Regions from separate parts of the Homo sapiens genome. Here region 1 is linked to region 2. The links are contacts of gene promoters, found by promoter capture Hi-C in blood cells and fetal thymus (Javierre and others, 2016). All regions are on one chromosome and are shown on one strand. Each heading gives the region's core, a stretch centred on a gene start or on the middle of the fragment in contact. The rest is flanking DNA. Distances are from core to core; before and after follow the strand shown. Region 1 has its middle 15 kb from the start of HNF1A-AS1. Region 2 holds the start of CABP1 (calcium binding protein 1).

Region 1 (5,963 bases), core at 3,266-5,765, 320 kb after region 2:
GCTAAAATGGGAATTTATTTTTATTTATTTTTGAGACAGAACCTCACTATGTTGCCCAGGCTGGAGTGCAGTGTCGCGATCTCGGCTCACTGCAGGTGCCGCCTCCCAGGTTCAAGCAATTCTTCTGCCTCAGCCTCCCGAGTAGCTGGGATTACAGGCATGCACCATCACGCCCGGCTGATAGGAATTTTGTATTTTTTGAGTAGAGATGGGGTTTCACCATGTTGTCCAGGCTGGTCTCGAACTCCTGACCTCAGTGATCCGCCCACCTCAGCCTCCCAAAGTACTGGGGTTACAGGCGTCAGCCACTGCCCCAGCCTAAAATGGGAATTTAATAACATCTCTTTTAAAGGACAGCTATGAGACAAAAATGGGATAAGGTGTGTGAAGATGCTCTCCTTTTCTGCCCAGTGGGTTTCTGCCTTTCCTTTGGGGGATCGTAGAGGAGGTTTCCCTCACTGTCTCCAGCCAGACCAGGGACTGTAGATGGGGACTCCTGGGTCCACGTTGTCCCTGCGATGTCGTCGCCCACAGAGTGACCTGCGGTACCCACTGAAGAGGCCACTCTTCCCCTCCCACACTCACAGCATCTCACCCACCTTCCTCCAAAGTCACTATCAGGCCTGGACCTTGAGGATGGTTAACAAAGCTTTTAATCAAGGCAGAAGTTCTTCAGTGGGAGCACAAACTAGAATTCCCTAGAGGGCTTGGGAAACAAATCCAGCTCACTGGGCCCCACCCCGAGTTTCTGATTCAGCAGGTTTGAGGTGAGGCTTGAGGATGTGCCGTTCTAACAAGTTCCCAGGTGAGGCCAATGCTGCTGGCCCTGGGACCACACTTTGAGATCCAATGAGCTTAGTCAGTGCTGCTAATTCCATCCCCATTTGCCAGTGATTGACTGGGCCTAAGCCAGTGGACCAACGAGATGCAAGGCGGGGCTTACTCTGGGCTGATGAGGGTGAGCAGCTCCTCCTTCTCCCCAGAGGAGACAAAGGTGCCTGAGTGAGTGGTGGCAGCCACTTTGTGACCATGAGGGGAATCAGCCTTCACAGAAGCTGATGCTGTAGACTGAGAAAACCTAGACTCCTAATAACATATACCATCAAGCCCACCCAACTTTGGGATTTTTTTTTTTTTTTAATTCTGGGGAAACTTTTATTTTTATTTCTAGACCAATTGACTATGGGATAGGAAAGAAAGTGAGGTGTCAAGGATAAAGCCAATATTTGACTCAAACAATGTAGAGGATGTTTGTTTTTAGCTTACTTGAGGAAGGCTGTGGTCGGGGAGAAGATTGAGAATTCTTTTTTTTTTTTGAGACAGGGTCTCACTCTGTTGCCCAGGCTGGAGTGCAGTGGTGCCATCCTAGCTCACTGCAGCCTCGACCTCCCAAACTCAAACAATCCTCCCACTTCAGCCTCCTGAGTAGCCAGGATTATAGGCAGATGCCACCATGCCTGGCTAATTTTTTCATTTCCAGTAGAAATGAGATCTCACTATGTTGCCTGGGCTAGTCTCAAATTGGGCTCAAATGATCCTCCCACCTTAGCCTCCCAAAGTGCTGGGATTATAGGCGTGAGCCACTGCACCTGGCCAAAGATTAATTCTGATCAATGCTAAGGACTTTCCACTCTTTACAACTTTAACTTTGTTTTGGTTGTTTCAAGAGCTACATTTGATTCGATTCGTTTTGTTTTGAGATGGAGTCTCACTCTGTCGCCCAGGCTGGAGTGCAGCGGTGCAATCCCACTGCAACCTCTGACCCCCGAGTTCAAGGGATTCTCCTGCCTCAGCCTCCTGAGTAGCTGGGACTACAGGCACCCACCACCACGCCTGGCTAATTTTTGTATTTTTAGTAGAGATGGGGTTTCACCATGTTCGCCAGGCTGGTCTCAAACTCCTGAACTCAGGTGATCTGTCCACCTCGGCCTCCCAAAGTGCTAGGATTACAGGCATGTGCCACCGCACCTGGCCTAAGAGCTACATTTTTTATCGCAGTCTCAGCCTTTTCATTTCCCCATATCCCACTCATTCCTATAAGGGCCAAATGCAATAAAACAGATGTGTATGTGCACTCACGCTGTGGAGTGAAGATGCAAATGACTGTGATGATCCAAACCCTGGCAGGAAGGTGGCAGCCCCGTAGGGCATGGGGATCAGAGGTAACTCCACTGTGTGTGCCTTCCGCTGTGTGTGCCCTCCACTGTGTGTGCCCTCCGCTGTGTGTGCCCTCCACTGTGTGTGCCCTCCACTGTGTCTGTCCTCCGCTGTGTGTGCCCTCCACTGTGTGTGCCCTCTGCTCCGCTGTGTCCACAGTGACAGCATAGATTATCCCAGGGCTCAATCAGTTGTTCCAGCTAACTTCCTGCTAAACAGAGCTGGTCACCAGGAGCCAGGCTGACACCTTTGAACCCCTTCTTCCCCTCTGCCTCCTTTCTCAGAAAATATAAAGTGCAAAATGGTCCAGAGGTGGACAGTGTGGGGAGGGAGGGGACATTGAGTCTTGATGACCTGCAAATTTACACCAGTTTCTGCATAATCCTATATGGGCTTTATCTGATCTTAGAGGCACCCATCCCTTTGCAATAAAAGATTGCATCTGTTTTTATTTCCCCTTTCTGTTGGAAGCTGATAAGCCAAGAATGTACTCTCCCCACCTGCTCTCAGCTTTGATTCCCATTAACACAGGGGCATTCCCAGGAAAGGGTTGGGCTCCCCAAGGTGTTTGCTGGAGAACCTGCTGTCACTCTGCAGAGATGTACAAGTATTTACTGAAAGAAGAACTTCTCCAGGAATATTGTGTAAGCAGATTACACCGGATCTCCCTGCCCTTGGACAAATATATATGGTGAAGCTCAAAGAGGGGAATCCAATGCACAGAAACCTCCATGCTTAAAAAATATCTTGTGGCCGGGCACGGTGGCTCACGCCTGTAATGCCAGCACTTTGGGAGGCTGAGATGGGAGGATCACTTGAGCCCAGGAGTTCGAAACCAGCCTGGGCAACATAGGGAGACCCCCATCTCTACAAAAAATGAAAAAAGTTAGCCAGGCATGGTGGTGCACACCTGTAGTCCCAGCTACTAGGGAGGCTGAGGTGGGAGGATCACTTGAGCCTGGGAGTTTGAGGCTGCAGTGAGATATGATCATGTCACTGCACTCCTGCCCGGGCGACAGAGTGAGACTCTGTCTCAAAAAACAAACAAAAAACCAAACCAAAACAAAACAGAACTTGTGAATTGGTTTGGGGATTGCTGGTAAGAGACAAAGGGATGATCATCAAGTCTGGGGATGCCCATCCATTGCCACATCCCCAAGGGGATCACACCAGCTGGAGCACATCACTGCACGTCGCATTTTTGTTTTGTTTTGTTTTGAGACGGAGTCTCACTCTGTCTCCCAGGCTGGAGTGCAGTGGCGCCATCTCAGCTCATTGCAACCTCCACCTCCCGGGTTCAAGCAATTCTCCTGTCTCAGTCTCCCGAGTAGCTGGGATTACAGGCATGCGCCACCACACCCTGCTAAATTTTTTTGGAATTTTTAGTAGAGACAGAGTTTCACCATATTGGCCAGGCTGGTCTTGAACTCCTGGCCTCAGGTGATCCTCCCACCTCAGCCTCCCAACGTGCTGGGATTACAGGCGTGAGCACTGCACCCGGCCCTTTTTTTTTTTTTTGAGATGGAGTCTCACGCTGTTGCCCAGGCTGGAGTGCACTGGTGTGATCTCGGCTCACTGCAACCTCTGCCTCCTGGGTTCAAGTGATTCTCCTGCCTCAGCCTCCTGAGTAGCTAGGATTACAGGCACATGCCACCACGCCTGGCTACTTTTTGCATTTTGAGGCAGGGTTTCACCATGTTGGCCAGGCTGGTCTTGAACTCCTGACCTTAAGGCCCGCCTCAGCCTCCCAAAGTGCTGGGATTACAGGCGTGAGCCACCGCGCCCCGCCTTGCACATTGCATTTCTAGAGACTAGAGGCCTCAAATTAAGGTGTCGGTAAGGCTTGGCCCCCTCTCAAACTTGGGGGAGAGGGGAGATTCCACTCTTGCCCTTTCCAACGTCTCACGTCTCTGGTAATCCTTGGCAATCTTTGGCTTGCTGCTGCAGCACTCCACGGTGTACCTCTATTGTCCTAAGGTGTTCTCTGTGTGTGTGTCCAACTTTGGATTTTTGTTTTTATTAATTTTCTTTTCTTTTTTTCTTTTTTTTTTTTTTGACGAAGTTTCACTCTTGTTGCCCAGGCTGGAGTACAATGGCATGATCTCGGCTCACCACAACCTCCACCTCCCGGGTTCAAGCAATTCTCCTGCCTCAGCCTCCCAAGTAGCTGGGATTACAGGCATGTGCCATCATGCCCAGCTACTTTTTTTGTATTTTTAGCAGAGACAGGGTTTCTCCATGTTGATCAGGCTGTTCTTGAACTCCCGATCTCAGGTGATCCACCTGTCTCGGCCTCCCAAAGTGCTGGGCTTACAGGTGTGAGCCACCGGGCCCGCTGTTTTCATTAATTTTCATTTGAAGACATCCTGATACCTAGTCAAAGCCTCATGACTTTGGGGGCTGAGAGGACAGGGTGGTGGTGGATGTATAGTTGGCGGGGTGTGGTGGTGCACACCTGTAGTCCCAGCTACAGGAGGATTGCTTGAGCCCAGGAGGTCGAGGCTGCAGCAAGCCATGAGTGTGTCACTGTACTCCAGCCTGGGCGACAGAATGAAACCCTGTCTCTTAAAAAAAAAAAAAGAAAAAAAAAGGATGTACAGTAGGAGGATTATCTTTGCCTTCAGTTGCTGGGAGGTGATCTCTAGGCCCCTTAACGTCCTGTCTGATGGAAGTGTCTGTGTTTGCCTGGGGCCTTTGGCCACCAGATAGTCTAACAATGTGATCTGTAATGAAGGCTTTGGAACATCCTGTATCAGTTCCAACCTCCAGATGAGCTGGATACACAAGAGTTAGCTCAGGAGAGACTGGAGATGAAAGGTCAGCCACACTGGCAGTAAGGGATCAAGCCCCACTAAAAAACGCTGGACACTGGCTGGCAGTGGCTCATGCCTGTAATCCCAGCACTTCAGGAGGCTGAGGGGGGCGGGTCACCAGATGTCAGGAGTTTGAGATCAGCCTGGCCAACATGGTGAAACCCTGTCTCTACTAAAAATACAAAATCAGCTGGGCATGGTGCATGCCTGTAATCCCAGCTACTCGTACTCTGGAGGCTGAGGCGGGAGAATCGCTTGAACCCAGGAGGTGGAGGTTGCAGTGAACTGAGATCACGCAACAGCACTCCAGCCTGGGCGACGAGAGCGAGACTCCATCTCAGAAACAACAACAACAAAAACAAAACCCCCAAAAACGCTGGACACCAAAGCCTCAGGAGCTTCTCTGGTTAGCAGTATTCTCTGAGTGTCATCACGCATCATAGCTGGGGGGAGGTGACTGTCTGGAGAGAAGGTAACTAGGAGCTTTGCACTTGAACCCCTTCCGCACCTCACCCTCTATGTCCTTTCTTGTGGCTGGTTCTGATCTGTGTCTGTTTGCTATCATAAAAACTGTCGTTATGAGGCGGGGCACTTTCCTGAGTTCCATGAGTCATTCTAGTGAATTATTGAACCACAGGGGGTAGTGGGAACCCTCAATGCAGCCAAGCGGTCAGAAGTGAGGGTGGCCCAGGAATCCCCAGTTGCACCTGGCATTTGAAGTGAAGGCTGCCTTGTGGAGGGACTGTGTCCTTAGCCTTGAGCTTGACAAATTCATTGCAGTAGGTTCTGTCATCTGCCTCTTAGAGAATACCCTCATTTCAACTGGGCGCGGTGGCTCACGCCTGTAATCCCAGCACTTTGGGAGGCCGAGGCGGGCGGATCACGAGGTCAGGAGATCGAGACCATCCTGGCTAACACGGTGAAACCCCGTCTCTACTAAAAATGCAAAAAATTAGCTGGGCGTGGTGGCGGGCGCCTGTAGTCCCAGCTACT
Region 2 (5,336 bases), core at 58-2,557:
ACCCAATCTCGGCTCACTGCAACTTTCACTTCCCGGGTTCAAGTTATTCTCATGCCTACAAGTGGCTGGGATTACAGGCGCCCACCACCACGCCTGGCTAATTTTTGTATTTTTAGTAGAGACAGGGTTTCACCATGTTGGCCAGGCTGGTCTCGAACTCCTGACCTCAAGTGATCCGCCGGTCTTGGCCTCCCAAAGTGCTGGGATTACAGGTGCGAGCCACTGTGCCCGGCCTCGTGTATCCTTTTAATGAGGCCGAGCGGTGACAAGACTGTGGATGGCATTGGGGCCAGGGACCAGAACAGGGAGAGCCTGGGAGGAACCCCTCCAGCCCCCCGCAAAGCTCAAGCACCGGATACTAAAGAAGAATGGTAGATGGGGCCTCACGATGTGCAGGGGGAAGGGAACTGGCTTAACTGGATGGTCCCCTGTCCGAGCACTGGGCTAGGCCTTTTGTGTGCATAGTATCGTCTGCTGTTACCAAGAAATTAGTTATGCTTATCATCTGCATTTTACAGAAGAGGAGAACAAGGCTCAGAGAGGTTGATGACACCTGCCCAAGTTACCCAGATGGTAGGTGGCAGAGCTGGGATTTGAGATTCAGATAAGGCCTGGGACGCTCCCTGGCTGCCCACCGAGAGCAGGAATTTCTGTAGCATCTAGAAAGGCAGGAAGGTGAAAGAGGGGACAAGAGCTGGAGGGGGAGCAAATGGGTCCTACCTGAGACTTACCATCATCAGGTGCTGCCAGACCTGGCTTCTCTTCTATTCTGAGAACTGATATCCTGTGGCTGACTTACCAGGGTCGTCCTAGTCCCCCCGCACGGTATTGGGAGTGGAGGCAGCCCCACACGGAGGCGCTGGGAGACTTTCCTCCCAGCAGTGTCCTGTCACTGCATTCCGGCCCCTGCGTTTGTAGGCAGTGATGTCACAGAGTGCCTTCATGCTCCTCGGGTCTCCGGTTCTCCCCGGACCTCTGTAGTCCTCATTGCCAAAGTTGTACCCCCTGGGGAGTGCACCCTGCCTGCATTTCTGGAGGTTCGGGCGGTTCCGGGGCTCTGCAGGAGCCTCCAGGCGTGATAAAGAGCGCTGCCGGCACTCCCGGGGTCTCGGCCTCTTTGGGGCCCATTGCCAAGCCCCTTCCCTCCTCGTGCTCCCGCTCCGCGTTGCAGCGTCCCCTTCGCCGCCAGGGGCCGCCCGGAAGCGGGGCTCCCCCAGGGCGGGGCGGGGCAAGGGGCGGGGCGCGGCGGTACCTGGGCCGCCAGGGAGCCGGGGGTGGGCTCTCCGGGGACAGCCGGCAGCGCCCCCAGATCTGCACCGCCAGCCGCCGGGAGCTCCGGGCTCCGGGCGTAGAGGCTGCGCTGTCACATGGGCGGCGGCGACGGGGCCGCATTTAAGCGGCCGGGGGACGGCGCCCGCCTCCAGCGCGTCCTCGGGCTTGGCTCCCGCCGGGAGCCCCGTTCTCTGCCCGCCGGGGGCCCCGCGCCGCGCCGCACCGCGCCGCCCCCGCCGGGCCATGCGAGCGCGGGCCCCGCCGCGATGAGCTCGCACATCGCCAAAAGCGAGTCCAAGACGTCGCTGCTGAAGGCGGCGGCGGCGGCGGCGAGCGGGGGCAGCCGGGCTCCCCGCCACGGCCCTGCCCGGGACCCGGGGCTGCCTAGCCGCCGGCTACCCGGCTCCTGCCCGGCGACGCCGCAGTCGTCCGGGGACCCCAGTTCGCGGAGGCCCCTGTGCCGGCCGGCGCCGCGAGAGGAGGGCGCGCGGGGGAGCCAGCGTGTGCTCCCCCAGGCGCACTGCAGGCCCCGGGAGGCGCTGCCGGCCGCGGCGTCCCGACCTTCGCCGTCGTCGCCGCTGCCGCCGGCCCGCGGGCGGGATGGGGAGGAACGGGGACTGTCCCCGGCGCTCGGCCTCCGGGGCTCTCTGCGAGCCCGGGGCCGCGGGGACTCCGTTCCAGCCGCCGCGTCCGAGGCGGACCCGTTCCTCCACCGGCTGCGCCCCATGCTCAGCTCCGCCTTTGGCCAGGTAAGGGCCGCGCCTCCCGTCAGCGCTCCCGGGAAAGGCGCTCGGGACCCTGCCGGCCGCGGTTGCGCGTCCACAGCCTCCTCCCGCGGCCCGTGGTCCCCCACGGATCACGCCTCGGCTCACCTCGTCCTCCCCGGGCCGGCGCCCTTGCCGGCACTCCTCCTCCCCGTGCCTGATTCAGCACCCCGTGCGCTGTCCACGCTCCGGGCCTCTTGGGGCAAGGCCCTCCCCGCTAGCCTCCCTCATACCCGCCAGAACCCGCCAGTCCTGGAAGAGAGCGACCTCTACGACCGTCCTGGAGATTTGCGGGGGTCAAGGAGGGGCGCTCCGAGCAGGTGGCGCCAAACCCACTCCTCTGGCCTCTGGCCAGTACCGCCAGGGAGGGACTCAGGAGAGCAAGCGGTTTGGAGTCTGGGGGTCAAGAGAGGGGACCTCAGAGAACACAGAATTACTTGAGGGCGAGGGACACTGGCCACTGCCTATCATGTCCCTGAAGGCCTGAGAAAAGTTAGGAGATCCAAAAATATGAGGAAAGAGAAGAGGTGTCTGGGTAGGCATGGAGGGGCATGCAGAGCTGTGGCTCAAACTGGAACTTTGGGGTGGTTTAAGGAGGCTGTCACTCTAGGGATGCCATTGGAAGGGTGAGAAAGGCCACAAAGAGGTCATCAGTGGTTCCCTCAGGCCTTTCCCTCAAGAGTCCCAGGCACCTGGGAGCCTGCCCTTTAAAAGCAGCTCCGTAGTCACAATATAGGTCTACAGTTTGAGGCTGTGCTGCTGGGGAAACAGGCTCAGTAGAAGGAAACCTCTGAACTCCTGAGCAAAAAAGCCAGGGTTTCCCCTAGTTCGGAGTCTGTAATCAAGTCAAACTCATTGGCACAGCTTTGAGACAGTTCTGTGGCAGCCTCCGAGAGGTGTCATGCAGAGGTCTGATTAGAGCGTTTGCGTGGTTTGTAGGGAAACAGGGGGGGCTGTGCCTTTCTGTGCTGAGATCTAGCATAAAGAAGCTGTTTCAAGCTCCTGGCTTGCCACGCCGGATCAGAATTCCAAGGAGGCCCTGTGTGTTTTGCTTCAGATCTGCACATTTCTTTTCAAAATACTACTCGGCAGTGGCTGATGCTGGTGGAGGTCTGACATGAAGGCAGCCGCACATGGATTTGGGTTGCGTGGTGCTGCTGTGGTGGGGCCATAGGGCAGTGGTGTGTGGCTTTGTTCCTGCAGGGAGCCCTCGTTAGCCGAGTTAGCTGGAAACAGTTCTCTGGAGTAGAGATGTGGATGCAGAGCCGTGAGAGTTAGTGAGGCGATGTGTCAGGGGAGTTCACTGCAGTGCTTTGTGTTAATGAGGAGGTGTAGGCTGCCAGGGCACGAGTGGTCTTTGGATTGGGGCTGGGTTGCAGCAGGAATGCTGGGTTGTTGAATGGGTGATACCAATTCATTCATTTATCAATTATTTCTTGAGCATTTATTAAGGAAACCTTCAGGGGTTTCCTTAGTTCCTGTGGTTTGTTTGTTCAGACATTTGCTAGACACCAGGAAGACAACAGTGAACCAGATAGCCAGGGCCCTGGCTGTACCTAGCAGTTTGGAAGGGTAGGTCATTGGCCTAGAATCATACACTTTCTGGTTACTCAGTTTGCAGCTGATCTGACTCAGCTCCTGAAAAAAAAAAAAAAAAAGAGTCCTTTCTTTCCTGTCTTGCAGAATTTGCCTACATGAGCCCTTTCTGAGCTCCGAGCATTGTAGCGACGTGCTTTTGTTTCTCCTTCTAATTTCTCAGTCATTAAGTGAATTCTCCGGCCCAATGTTCTGAAATGTCACCAGGGTCACCTGAGTCAGGAGGAGCTGGAAGTTCCCATCAAATATTTACTACCTCCCTGTGGAAGCTCTTGCCTCTCAGCTGCGGGCTTTTACTTTAAAGCCCAGCACATTCAGTTTGGGCTTCCATCTGACACCTCGAAGTCATCTACGTGAGCAACAACAGCAAACCCAGGCTGGGACTTTCGTGTCAGAGCCTCCAGTCTCCTGTGACAGAGAGGAATTAATCTTTTCTTCCCTTTTCTCCGTATTGAGATTTCTGTCCTTAGAGGCAGGGTCAGAACCAAGAGAAGGCAGATGGGGTTCTGAATACAGAAACTTTTAGTTAAGATCTGCTTAGAGAAAAATACAGCCCTGGGGAAGTATATTTTTCATGACTCCCCAAGTTTCATTTGTTTTTAACTTAAGTGAATTGCTTAACCTCATTAAGTCTATTTCTTTTTTAAAAAATATATTTTATAATAGAGACAGGGTCTCACTATGTTGCCCGGGCAGTCTGGAAATCCTGGGCTCAAGTGATCCACCTGTTTCAGCCTCCCAAAGTGCTGGGATGACAGGCATGAGCCACCGTGCTTGGCCAAGTCTATTTCTTTACCTGCAATGTAGGGATCATCAGGGTGCTTGGGAGATTAAATGAGATACGGAGAGATAGAGAGAGCTTGGCCCAGGCCTGGCACGGAGCCCTTGCTAACTCTATCAGTGTTAGTTATTCTTCTTCTTTGTTGTTATTGTTGATTAACTACCAAGGCCTTCTTCCTTTTCATTTGTAATAGTCTCAGAGAGCCAGTGTTCAGAATCACACTGAAGGCACAAAGATGAATTCCTACCTTAAAGGAAACAGGGATGAAAACTCTCCCAGTGACCTCATAGAGCATCCTTATTGCATATGCATGGAGACAGCGTGGTTTTGAGGCTAAGGTGTGGAATGGTGGCTTGGGAGACAGCAGAGATGCAAGTTCTAATCCTGGCTCTGTCACTTTCGATCTCTGTGTCCTTGGGCATGTTATTTTCTCTCTCTGGTCTTGGTTTCTTCATCCAGGAATGAGATTGACAAAAACTGCTTTGCAGTTATTAGGAGGCTTACACAAGATTAAGGATATCAAATGCCTGGCTCATAGTGAGTGCTGGATAAAGGGCAGCCTTCATTAATGTTATTGCTATTATTAATAGGGTAATTGAATGAGGGCCTGGGTAAGGTACTTTGAAAGCTGATTCTGAGCCAGGTGAGGATGGCTATTAAGGGAAGGAGCTGAATGTCAAAGGATCTTCCGTACTCCCTCTTTGTGGCCAGCTAAGGACATGCCACCCAGCTGTCTAGAGAAGATGTGATGTCAGAAATTAACTCGGCAGAGGCATGATGACATGGGGCTTTAGGTCTTGGAAGACTATTTTAAGAAACAGGCTTTCTGCTCCTTACCCTGAGCTTGAGAAGAAACATGCCTTGTGGAGGAGGCAAATGTGGATAAAACCCACAGCTCTGTCCCATCCTTCCCATTTTTCCAG

What was found. Contacts are between HindIII fragments. The CHiCAGO score rates a contact against its expected background, and 5 or more counts as called.
Region 1: a contact is called between a fragment that was not itself captured here and the fragment with the promoter of CABP1 in region 2, in 2 of 17 cell types (M1 macrophages and endothelial precursors). The highest score is 8.0, in M1 macrophages.

The regions. Positions count from the first base shown.
Region 1 is chr12:120,954,497-120,960,459 of GRCh38, forward strand. No RefSeq gene overlaps it. Among named protein-coding and RNA genes, the nearest start is that of HNF1A-AS1, 15 kb to the right of the region's middle. The HindIII fragment of the contact is 7,737 bases long and covers 648-5,963 here.
Region 2 is chr12:120,639,319-120,644,654 of GRCh38, forward strand. It overlaps CABP1 (calcium binding protein 1), which reads left to right and starts at 1,308. Exons shown (of 6, transcript NM_001033677.2): 1 at 1,308-2,021. The coding sequence starts at 1,368. CABP1-DT (CABP1 divergent transcript) reads right to left here and starts at 1,204. Exons shown (of 2, transcript NR_183426.1): 1 at 732-1,204. RefSeq lists silencers at 1,168-1,467, 1,688-1,787, 1,798-1,967, 2,188-2,287. The HindIII fragment of the contact is 19,814 bases long and covers 1-5,336 here.